Regions from separate parts of the Homo sapiens genome. Here region 1 is linked to region 2. Evidence: promoter capture Hi-C in 16 types of primary human blood cells and fetal thymus (Javierre and others, 2016). All regions are on one chromosome and are shown on one strand. The core of a region is centred on a gene start or on the middle of the fragment in contact, and the rest is flanking DNA. Distances in the headings are between cores, read along the strand shown.

What was found. The method cuts DNA at HindIII sites, captures the fragments that hold promoters and counts their contacts. A CHiCAGO score of 5 or more calls a contact.
Region 1: a fragment that was not itself captured here is called in contact with the fragment with the promoter of FH in region 2 in 1 of 17 cell types (erythroblasts); the score reaches 5.9 in erythroblasts.

What each region holds. Positions count from the first base shown.
Region 1 is chr1:248,817,957-248,823,689 of GRCh38, reverse strand. All of the region lies in intron 2 of SH3BP5L (SH3 binding domain protein 5 like), which reads left to right. Among named protein-coding and RNA genes, the nearest start is that of SH3BP5L, 5.1 kb to the left of the region's middle. RefSeq lists an enhancer at 1,781-2,980 and a silencer at 4,506-4,800. The HindIII fragment of the contact is 4,075 bases long and covers 1-3,855 here.
Region 2 is chr1:241,518,327-241,523,932 of GRCh38, reverse strand. It overlaps FH (fumarate hydratase), which reads left to right and starts at 4,178. Exons shown (of 10, transcript NM_000143.4): 1 at 4,178-4,342. The coding sequence starts at 4,211. RefSeq lists silencers at 4,064-4,193, 4,016-4,298, 4,474-4,743 and an enhancer at 3,804-4,400. The HindIII fragment of the contact is 3,380 bases long and covers 1,783-5,162 here.

The DNA.
Region 1 (5,733 bases), core at 569-3,068, 7.3 Mb before region 2:
CTTCACTCTCTGTGTGGGTTCCTGGGATATGTGTGTGTGTGTGGGTTCCTCTTCTACTGTGTCCATGCTTATAATGGAGCAGTGGTGAGCCATTTGTTTCTGGCATGAGTCAGTAATTTATTTCTGCTCTGCCTGACATTGCATTGAAAACAGCCAATTTTTCTTGCTATTTCTACAGATTTATCATCCTCTGAGGAAATCAGTTGTAGTGAAAAAAGTCTTGGGCTGAGTTTCACGCTACCTCCAACCCCATGATTTATGATTTTTATGGAAGTTTCTTTACGTTTCTGAGCCTCAGTTTCTTCATCTGTAAAGTGAGCAGTTGGTCTAGCTGATTTGCACAACTCATTCTTGCTCTGCTCTGACACAAGTCTACAGTTCTTTCTCAAACTCTTTTTGCTTGTTCCTTGGTGATAGTTTGTAGATAGCACTTTGGGAAAGAGCTGTCTCTCTGTTGCTTGTGGAGGAGGGCTGTGTAATGTGCATTATATGCCTCCCTACAGCCTTCCTTGCCCTGCTCCAGAGAAGGCTTCTGCAGAGGAGAATCCACTGTGGTCTCTTTACTTGGCCTCTACTACTCCTATGTATTTTTCCAGTGTCTGCATAGGCACATGGTAGTAGTAGGAAGAGTCATGCTTGCATTGTGCTGTCTAATAGGGTGGACTAGCTGCATGTGGCTATTTAAACACAATCAATTAAAATTAACATGTAAAAATGCAGTTCCTCGGCCAGGCATGGTGGCTCACACCTGTAATCCCAGCATGTTGGGAGGCCGAGGCAGGTGGATCACCTGAGGTCAGGAGTTTGAGACCAGCCTGGCCAACATGGTGAAAACCCGTCTCTACTAAAAATAAAAAAAGCTAGCCAGGTGTTGTGGCGGGTGCCTGTAATCCCAGCTACTTGGGGGGTTGAGGCAGGAGAATTGCTTGAACCCAGGAGGCGGAGGTTGCAGTGAGCTGAGATCTGCCACTGCACTCTAGCCTGGGTGACAAGAGCGAAACTCCGTCTCAGAAAAAAAAAAAAAAGCAGTTCCTCAATGTTATACTGACAGTGCATAAATAGAATATTCTGTCATCACTGACTCTTCTATCAGATGAGCTCTATGAGAGTTGGAGTACACTGAGGTAGCGTAAGACTTACTTTGCCTCCAGTGAACTTGTGATGTCGCTGGTGCAGGAAAGGTAAAGCAGACCCTCGTCTCTCTTGCTAAACTGCACAACACGTTGTGGAATGTTGTGGGTTGTATAGGGAGGAAAGGTCTAGTAATAGCTTCCCTCATTTGATGACACAGGTGTGGGTACGCCAGTGCTCTGACCTCAGCAGGGAGTCAGTGTCTTCTTGCTGTGTGAGAGAGGCAGCCTGGCTTGAGGGGCACCCTTCACGGAGGAGGCCGGTGGCATTTTGCCCTTCTGTGCTTGGGCTTTCAAGATGAGGAGGAGATTGGGGTGTTTGTCTTTCGAGGTCCCTTTGAGTGTTGACAGTTCACTAGACCATGCACATTGCTCTGATCATGTGTTTCAGTGCTTTAGGTGGGTGTTCATTTCTCTGGATTCTCAGTGCATTTACTGGGTTTCCATCCACCGTCCATAAAAAGCCACCAGGGAGCTTCAAAAATACCCTTACCTGAGCCTTTCCAGACATGTGGATTCTCTTAGTCTGGGTGGGGTGAGAAGGGATTCTGATGTTACAGTCAGAGCCAAATCCACTGGGCCAGGTATATCCCAAAGGTAGAGCGCCTGTTTCGGTATTTTCTGAGGCTCCCGGAAATGGCTGTCCTTCGGATGAGGCCCTGTCTGACCTGGGGCTGGGGCTCCTTTGCAGGCAGGCAGCTCCATGGCCATTTATGGTGGGATTCCTCTGGAAGTTAGAAGGAAGTCAGCTGGTGCCTACCTGGAGCGTGCTGTCCCTCCAGGGAAGGCTGCTGGCTGTGTCTCCTTGTCATGATCTTAGTGGAGTTCTTTTGAGTCCTCCAGGCTCATCCTCAGCTTTCCGAGAGGGTTCCAGTGGAGGGAAGAGGAAAGGAGCGTGGATCTAGGATGGACCTGGGTCTGTTCTGTGACTTTCTCAGCCCCCTCTTAGTGGTTGCATTCTTTCCTCAGATGTGAGTGCTCTCGTTTACCTGCTCCTTTCCAAACTCTCTAGGGTGACTTTGCAACCTCTGTGACCTCATCTAGAAGTATGGGTTTAGCTTTCACAGGACAGTCATCACCCTGGCCCCAGTTACCATTAGTTTGAGTCTTTTGATGGTCTGCACTAGGTGGGGTGGGAGCATCTGCAGCCTGAGTCCCCATGCCTTTGATTCAGTGTCCTGGCATCCTGGGAATCTGACTGCTGTGCCCTGGGAAGGTCACCCTCCCTGCTGGCTGCTGGCTCACTGATGGATGATGCACGTTGATTCAGACTTTGTCCTCCCCAAATTCCGTTTCAGCTGAGTGCCAGGAGTCCCTGGTGAAGCAGGCCAAATGGAATGTGTTGCTGACTGCCCAAAACTGTCCCAGGTCCTCAGTGGATTCCTGCTCAGCCTTTCCCTGGGTGTCGCCTAGGTGGGCTATCCCCCTCCCTCCTGTGGTGACCTTGCCCTCCAGGCTGCTTTGCTCCCCAGGCATCTTCTTGTCCTGTTAGGGAGAGCTTTGTGACTCTGAGGGGACAGATCCCATCAGCAGATGGCTTTCTGTAAATTGCTGGAGGTGCCACTGGGAAGCTAGTTCCCATATAGAAAGATAATGCCCACTCCTGCCACTTGCCAATAGCAACAGCTCTTCTTGTCCTTTTAACAGTAGTAACAACTTATGCTGAGCCATCCAATCCATTGATGATCTTGTCAGGAGCTGGAAGTTGATGACTGGAAGCATTTGAGGCCATGGAATCCAGTGGGGATCCCGTCTTGGACTTTGATTTGCCACATGAACATTGCAGGGTGGCCTTTACCAACTGACCCCCCACAATCAATGTTTGTTGCATTTCCAATCCCTGTCCTTTTCCTACGTGGGCTGTGGTTTTCCTAGATTACAGCACTTCTTTCTTTACTGAGATGTCCTTCCAGTGGTGTCCTCATTCCCAGGAGGGTGGTCACAGTGGAAGGAAAGTGAGATCAAAGGTCGGTCCTGGATCCAGACCCAAGTCTGTCACTAATTTTCCGCCTGGTTGTTTCTCATCTATCAAATGCAAAGTTGCTGAGAAAGAATATTCCAGCAGGAGGTGCTGAAAGAACTGGTCACTCGTCTCCCAGATAGCCTAAAAGCCCCTGTAGGCCTCGTCAAGCCCCAGGAAGCTGGGCCCCCAGGGAGGTAGGTTGCCTTTCAGCTTGACAGACATTGCCTTTTTAGGGCCTGTTGGGGTGATCGTGTCAGTTGCTGGTGATGTCTCTGTTCGGAAGGCACTGTGAAACTTGGAGTTCCATGTGTCTGGTAGTGTTGATGCTGACCCTATGCCTCCTCTGGGGCCCTGAGCTGTGTTGGCTGCCTGTTCTTCCAGAATGGTTGTTATTTTATGGACACTGGGTTGTGGGACACTGTAGATGCATCTACCCAAATACAACAACTTCTAGACCTTCGCCACCCAACACAGGAGCCACATGCCACTGTCTAGGTTGAGATGTGTCACAAGAGTCAAGTGCATACGGATTGTGAAGACTTAGTTTAAAAAAGTAAAAGTATGGATAATAATATTATTTTATGTTGATCACATGTTGAAATATATTTTGTATATATTGGGTTAAATGTATTTTTATAATTTCACTCTTTTTTTAAATTTTTTTACTTTTAAAAAATGTGGCTTCTAGAATTAAAAATTCCATGTGCAGCTCCTGTTACGTTTCTGTTGAATAAGTCTCTTCGAGAAAATTTAGAGCAAGCTTTTCCAACCCGTGGCCTGTGGGCCGCATGCAGCCCAGGATGGCTTTGAACACGGCCCAATGCAAATTTGTAAACTTTTCTTAAAACATTATGAGATTTTTTTTTGTGATTTTTTTTTTTTTTTTTTTTTTTTGAGACTGAGTCTTGCTCCTTCACCCAGGCTGGAGTGCAGTGGCACAATCTCAGACCACTGCAACTTCCGCCTCCCAGATTCAGGTGATTCTCCTGCCTCAGCCGTCCCAGTAGCTGGGACTACAGGTGTGTGCCACCATACCCAGCTATTTTTTTGTATTTTAGTAGAGATGGGCTTTGCATCATGTTGCCCAGGCTGTTCTCAAACTCCTGAGCTCAGGCAATCTTCCCACCTCGGCCTCCTGAAGTGCTAGGATTACAGGTGTGAGCCACTGCGCCTGCCCACGATTTTTTTTTTTTTTTTTAAGCTCATCAGCTGTAGTTAGTGTTAGTGTATTTTATGTGTGGCCCAGGACAGTTCTTCTTCCAGTGTGTCCCAGGGAAGCAAAAAGATTGGACATCCCTAGTTTAGAGCCAGATTTGTGGCCCTCCTTAGGCAGGGTCTACACTGTTGTAGGTAGGTGTGTGCATTTTCATATCCTCATTCCTCGTTCCATTACAGGTTTCTACCTTTGTGTTCTTCCTGTTACTGTAATTAACATGTCAAACCATTTCCTGTATTCTTACCTGCTGACCCAGATCTTTTCAGGATCAAGGCAGGGGATGGGGGGAGGATAGAAGAGGTAGAAGGGACTAAAAGGAAGATTGTGCATGTCAGCCTGACTCCCTCACTGGGTTGCTGAAAGGCCCGAATGAGGTGAGTGGGGGCCAACATCACGGCCATATGAGTGGGAAGTGATTGTGGTGTCACTGCCAAGTGCAAGTCATGGGTCTGGGCAGCAGGCACATGCTGGGCTGGGTCTCTCTGGCCTGTCCAGCCTCCTGTCCAGAGACAGCAGGGGCTGGTGAAGGCAAATCCTATAGCTAGGCACCAGGTATTTCCTGGCACAAGGCCCTTGGCACAGACCAGCACTGCTCCTCAGTAGTGTCCTTAGCTCACCAGGGGCTCTGGGAACTTTTGTGTTTTCTCGGGCAAGGGAGGATGACTTGAGGCCAGTACCCCTCTCAGCTCTCTTCCATTTCATGGAAAGCCCTGGATGGTTCTATTGCTTCTCTCTCCAGTCCTTCCAGGGGCCAGGAAGGCACTCAAACCAGCTTGTCCAGCAACTTTTCCCCAGGACTCTCCCTCCCTCCCACAGGATCTGCTCTATAGGGACCTGCGGTCATGGTCACCCATTGCCCAAGCAGGCCAAAAGGCTTCTTGGACTCTATACACTTTCCTGATCTTGACCTTAGTCATCCACCAAGCCCCTGTGATTCTGTGTCCTGCGTTGCCTTGGGATCTGCCCTCTCCTCTGCCACCTGGAATACTATAGACAGCCTCCACCTTTTTTTTTTTGTTTGTTTTTTGTTTTTGTGATGGAGTCTCACTGTGTCGCCTAGGCTGGAGTGCAGTGGCACGATCTGGGCTTACTGCAATCCCTGCCCCCCGGGTTCAAGCCATTTTCGTGCCTCGGCCTCCCAAGTAGCTGGGATTATAGATGTGTGCCACCACGCCCAGCTAATTTTTGTGTTTTTGCTAGAGACAGGGCTTCACCATGTTGGCCAGGCCGGTCTTGAACTCCTGGCCTCAAGTGATCTGCCCACCTCTGCCTCCCAAAGTGCTGGGATTACAGGTGTGAGCCACCATGCCTGTCCCAGCCTCCACTTTTGTCTCCCTGGCTCCCCCAGGCTTTCGTTACATTGGCACCAGGCTCTGAGAGACCCTTTTGCCATTGCAGAAAGTCCTGGTACTACCTCCCATAGT
Region 2 (5,606 bases), core at 2,929-5,428:
TTTGGGAGAGGGAAATACGGAGACTTTGATATTTCAAAGAGCGAGAAAGAGGTATTTCCAAGGAGAAGGGGTGTCAATTGTGTCAATGCTGCTGCAAACATAGGAAACTAATTGTTCATTGTATTTGCACCTTGCAGGTCACTGGTGACCCTGGAAAGGGCAGTATGAATGGAGTGACATGTACTGAAGGCAGATTGTAATAGGATGAAGAAAGAATGAGAAGTGAAGTGAAGATGGTGATCAAATATGTCCTGGAAATGAGGAGGGAGTTGAAGTGGGATGCAAAGTCAGAGCAGCTTTTGTTTGTTTTTAACATGAGAGCTGAGACAGCAAAGTTACAGTATTAACTTATTCTATGGGTCAATTAAGAGAAATAACCAGACAAAGTAAGAAAAAGAGTGGGTAGTGTCTCTGAGGGGTAATGGAATCCAGCACATTGAGGAATTGAAGTTTTTCTGGAGAATGGAGAGAGAGGTTGGTTAACTTTCTGAGTTGGTAATTTTAGTGTTTTGCAAAGTTTCTGTACGTGCACTTAGTCTTAGGAATAAAAAAGTTCTGCAAGACATCCAACCTAAACAGTCATCACCCTTGCTACCTCTCCGCCACTTATCCTTGCACAGAGGCATCCCTTCCAGTTCCTGGGTATATACTTCCACATCTCTAAAGATTACCTCTTGGTTTTTATTTCTGTCTGTCCAGTTTATGGTTTTAGGTATTAGATCATGACTTCTCACTACTGAAGACGAAGATTAATGTTTTTTTTTTCACCGTGTCTGAATCTCTCCAAACTTCTACATTCTTTCCATCTCCCCATCCTTTCAGTATAGTTACATCAACATTTCAGTTAGATCAATATTCAACGTTTGATTTATTATAACTATGGCCATTCAAATTTGATAATGATTATTTTCCCTTTTCTGCAAAATACAACTATCTTTATTTGTCAGTTTAATAACTGTCATGCTTTTTCCCTTTGGTTACTTTTCTAAGACTTATAAATGTAACCCTCAAACTCTCCCCCAATCAGCTAAATTCCTTCTCAGTATATTCAAGGCATTAGCAATTTTATCTTTTTGAGTAAATCTATTCCAGAGGCTGTGACCTGCTTCCATCTGAGATGGTTGCTCTCTAAGGTAAGTGCACAGCTGTCATAGCCTCCTCCAGGCAATATGCCACATCTGTCTCTTGTGTCGAAGACCCTATTTTCTAAGTCCATAATTTCCTCTTCCTTTGTTTACTCCTAGTTACGGTGGAGCACTTACTTGAGGCGTTTTCTTGAAAAGTGTAGATAAGAAGTAAATTTTTTGACATCTTGATCATGTGAAAACATTTTAATTCTCTTCACACACTTGATTTCTCTGGGTATAGAATATAAAGTTGGAAATAATTTTCCGTTAACAATTTGAAGACATCATTCAACTGCTGTCTGGCTTCCGATATTGTTGTTGTGAAGTCTAAGGATTTCTAATCCTTTGCTTATTTATTTTTCTCTCTGAAAGATTCCAGTCTCTTCTCTTTGCCCTTGGTATTCTAACATTTCTTGTTGACATAACTCATTCTGGCTAGTTCATATCTGCTAGTTCTACAATATATTTTTCTGAATTTATTTTTTTAAGGTTTATTCCATTTTTTCCTAATGTTTCCCCTACATTATTCACATGTTGGACATACTGAACTGTTTCTCTAATTTTATTTACTTCTTTTATTTTCCTTCTCTTTGAATATTTGCTCTACTTTCTGGGAGACTTTTATGGGTGTATCTTGCAAATTTTCTGTTAAGCTTCCTCTAGGAAACCCACTGGTAATCTCCCAGGCTGGGAGGTATCCTAAATTAGAATTTGCAAAAGTCTTTAGTTTGAATAAGGAGAACATTTTGATTGATACAATTTGAACCTCGCAATCAATTTTGTCAGCCAGGTGTTGAGATTTAGAACACAGGCAAGAGAAAACCATTGCACTTTTCCCTTGTCCCTCAGCAGGACACCAATCACATCCCCTACCTTAAACAGAAAGCAAAGTAAAACAAACAAGAACAAACCAGGCAAGCATCAACAAGAAGAAAGCAGGTCAATATTATTATCAGACAAGTCCAAAGTTAAAAAAAAAAAACCCAAACTCTAAGCAAAGTAAAAACATTATTTCAAATAGATAACATAAGTCATTCTAAAATGAAGATATCTAGCCTTTATTAAAGGCTTTATGTACGTTTTATTACGAATTAATAAAAATAAATTAGCTAAGTTAATATTTCCTAAATTTTAGTCATTTATATAGCATCTTCATATTATACTGAATATTTTACTTCAAATAAAATGAATAATTAAAAATGGAACTTCATATTACTACTGCAGATAGAAAATCAGTTTCACTAATAAATCGAAGTAAAACACACAAATAAATATGTGGATGTTCCTGGGCATCAATTTTTCTCTTCTATGTACAGGAATAATAATAGGACCTATCTCATAGGGTTGTTTTTGAGTGTTCCAAGAATTAATACATATAAAGTGCTTTGAAAAATTCTAGAACATAATATGTGTCATAGGTAATTTTTAAAAGGGATTAAAATAACCTATTTATAAAAAGGCTATTAATTTGGGTTTTGAAAAGTTAAACTGTATGGTAGAAATAAGAGACATGCTCGAAACAAAAATGAAACAAAAAATAAAATAAAATGAGAAATATACAGCAGGCAAATAATAGCCAATATGAAATTGGTAGAGAAATATCAATATTAAAAAAAGTTTAAAAGGACAAGCAACAATAACAATAAAGAGGGGCACCACACAATGAAGAAAGAGATGATCTATGAAGAAATGATAAACATATGTTCATTAAATAATTTTGTGTAATAGCAAAGAAAAATGTTCTTTATTAAGAAACTGGATAAATAAAATATTTCATATTCATGTGATCCAATATGATTAATTTTAAAAGATCATGGCTATATCTTAAAAGCATAGAGTTCAATTATGCAACAGTAAAACTTTAAAGTAAAATATTAAAACCATTGTTTGTATATTAGTGTATGAAGCAAAAAATACACAGAACTGAAAGGATGCATCAAAATAATGATATACACAATAATGATACCTGCTGGGAAGGAGGAGAACAAAAACAAAACGTCATTCCATTATTAGCAATGTTTTAAAGAATTTGCATTCAGTTTTCTAGTGTGTTTTGATTGTAGTTCAACTATTACAATCTCATTTGAATTTTTATATTTTAAATATGTGTCAAATTTATAAGTCACAAAATAACATAATGTTACCAAAAGGTTTGGCAAGTTTGTAAGTTTGACTCATAAATTTGGCTTTGCAGGTTCTGGACTTTTGATTTTAAGAACATCCGATCGCTCTCTCTTTACTGTCATCTGGTTCCAAGCAATAGAAAAGAGAAAAGATAAAACTGTGGTTCAGATGCAATTTTATATCAATTCCTGCTTTTCTGTAATCAACTATTATATTAAAACAATATGCCTTTAATTTGAAAATGTATAAATTAGCTATGCAAAAAACTGGGAGAACGATATACAAATAATAAAAATTCCGAGGTTCCCTATAATTGTGTACGTCTTCCACAATACATTAAAAAAAAAAAAAGAGTTCTGAGGGTATAGGCTAAGAAGAGAAAGGAAACGGTAGCGATCTCAAAATGATAAGTTAAAAGAAATAAGTAAGTAGCTTATTTTTCAGTTGTGGGATTATGAATAATTACTATTTCATTATCTACACTTTGCTGCACTTCCCAAAATTTCTACACAGAAGATACAATCTGGAAGAAATGAAGAAAGATTTCAGTAGTAAGAACGTGTAATGAGTGATTACATGATAAATAAAACAATAAATATTTCTTTCTAGGATATTTCACCAACCAAACACGACCTGATTCACCAACTAATACTCCCGCCTTCTAACAGCCACACGTAAAAATCAGACCGGCTCCAAGAATAACCTGAGCCTCCTTTCCCATAATTCCCTTCTTTCTAGTTTCCCATGAATCCGAAGGCCTTACACCCCACACTACTACTAGAAAGTTAACCCGCCCCCTCATTCTTTACTGGTCATTCACGATTGGTCCTGCCCCACCTGTCGGTGTGAGGCTGTTGATTGGATAAGAGCGGAGGCCGGTGGGCGGAACGGTTTCTGACAACCGGCGTGGAGGCGTGGCCACAGCCGCCCAGAAATTCTACCCAAGCTCCCTCAGCACCATGTACCGAGCACTTCGGCTCCTCGCGCGCTCGCGTCCCCTCGTGCGGGCTCCAGCCGCAGCCTTAGCTTCGGCTCCCGGCTTGGGTGGCGCGGCCGTGCCCTCGTTTTGGCCTCCGAACGCGGCTCGAATGGTGAGCGCAGGCCGCCATCCCCCGGCCTCCCCGCAGTGACCTTCAGCCCTCCTGCCTGCCGGCCTGGGCGCCCGCGACTTGGCGGGAGAGATTCCCCGGGCGTCCGGGCCGCGCCAGACTCTGGGCTTAGCGCCCGTGCCGGCGTGGCGGGCCTCCCGGCCTCGGGACGCCTCTTCCGGCGCAGGGATGGAGCCGCAGCCCGGGAGAGCGCTTGGGGAGGGACGGGGGCTGTCAGAGAGGGTCCTACTGGGCCCGCTCCCGGCGCCTCCTCGGAGCCGTCCGTGGCGGGCCGAGGCCGGGGCGTTTTGAGGTAACTTCGCTGCTGCTGGCGCGCAGGCCCCCAGCCCCGGGGCGCTGCCCTCAAGGACAGTGCCGGCGTGGGCGGAGGGTGCTGGGAGAGGGGCAGCTCCCGCACCGTCCTGCCCCATAGCTGGGCCTTGCTGGCCGGACACTGGCCGCCTGTGCATCTAGTGGTTTCTGAACTGTGGTTTGTTTCGCCAAGGGGCACTGCACTGCTTTCAGGCCCTCCAGGTGGGGTAGAAGGTTCTTCGAAGATTTTACTTCCTTTGAAATTGCATGCTCAGTTTGTTAGGCTGACTATGGTTTCCCCCGTAATTGTTGTAAAACTCTTCAATTCCGAATACCGCGGGCATAGTGTTCTGAAGCATGTTTGAGCAGATTGGCTAGGAGCTGAATCGGTACTTTTTATTCAGAAAGCCAGCTAAGAACTTAAAGATCCAAGTTCAGGTTATGACATGCTTACGTAAGTCATTTTGCTCTTTAGAGTGTCATCTTTAGGAATGCAGGCTTTTAAAAAGCTTTAAATACATATGTATATTGTTAGGAAACGTTTGAGAAATGATAGTTGAAGAGTTACAGTTCTGCACTGGTGTAGCATGAGGTTTGCAATCTAAGAGATGTGATTTCAAATCCGTATGCAAAGTTGAAATACTTACAGCTACTCAGCAAAACTGCACATGTGAAAATACCATGTAGCGAGTGCTCATTAAATAAGTGCCCCATCTAGGGTATTTCAAAGGGCCAGTACTTTTTCTGGACTCTAAACTTCAAGATAATTTGATTGGGTCACTATACCTACGATATACAACTATACTACAGAATCAGAGATGTTTTGTATTCCTCGAACTCCCTGCTCGAATAATTTTAGGGCATTTTAAAACCTTTACATATTTTTAAATTTATTTATTGTTTATTTAGTGTTTTGTAAAGGGAAGCAGACTGGAGAACTTCTGAATCTATCCTG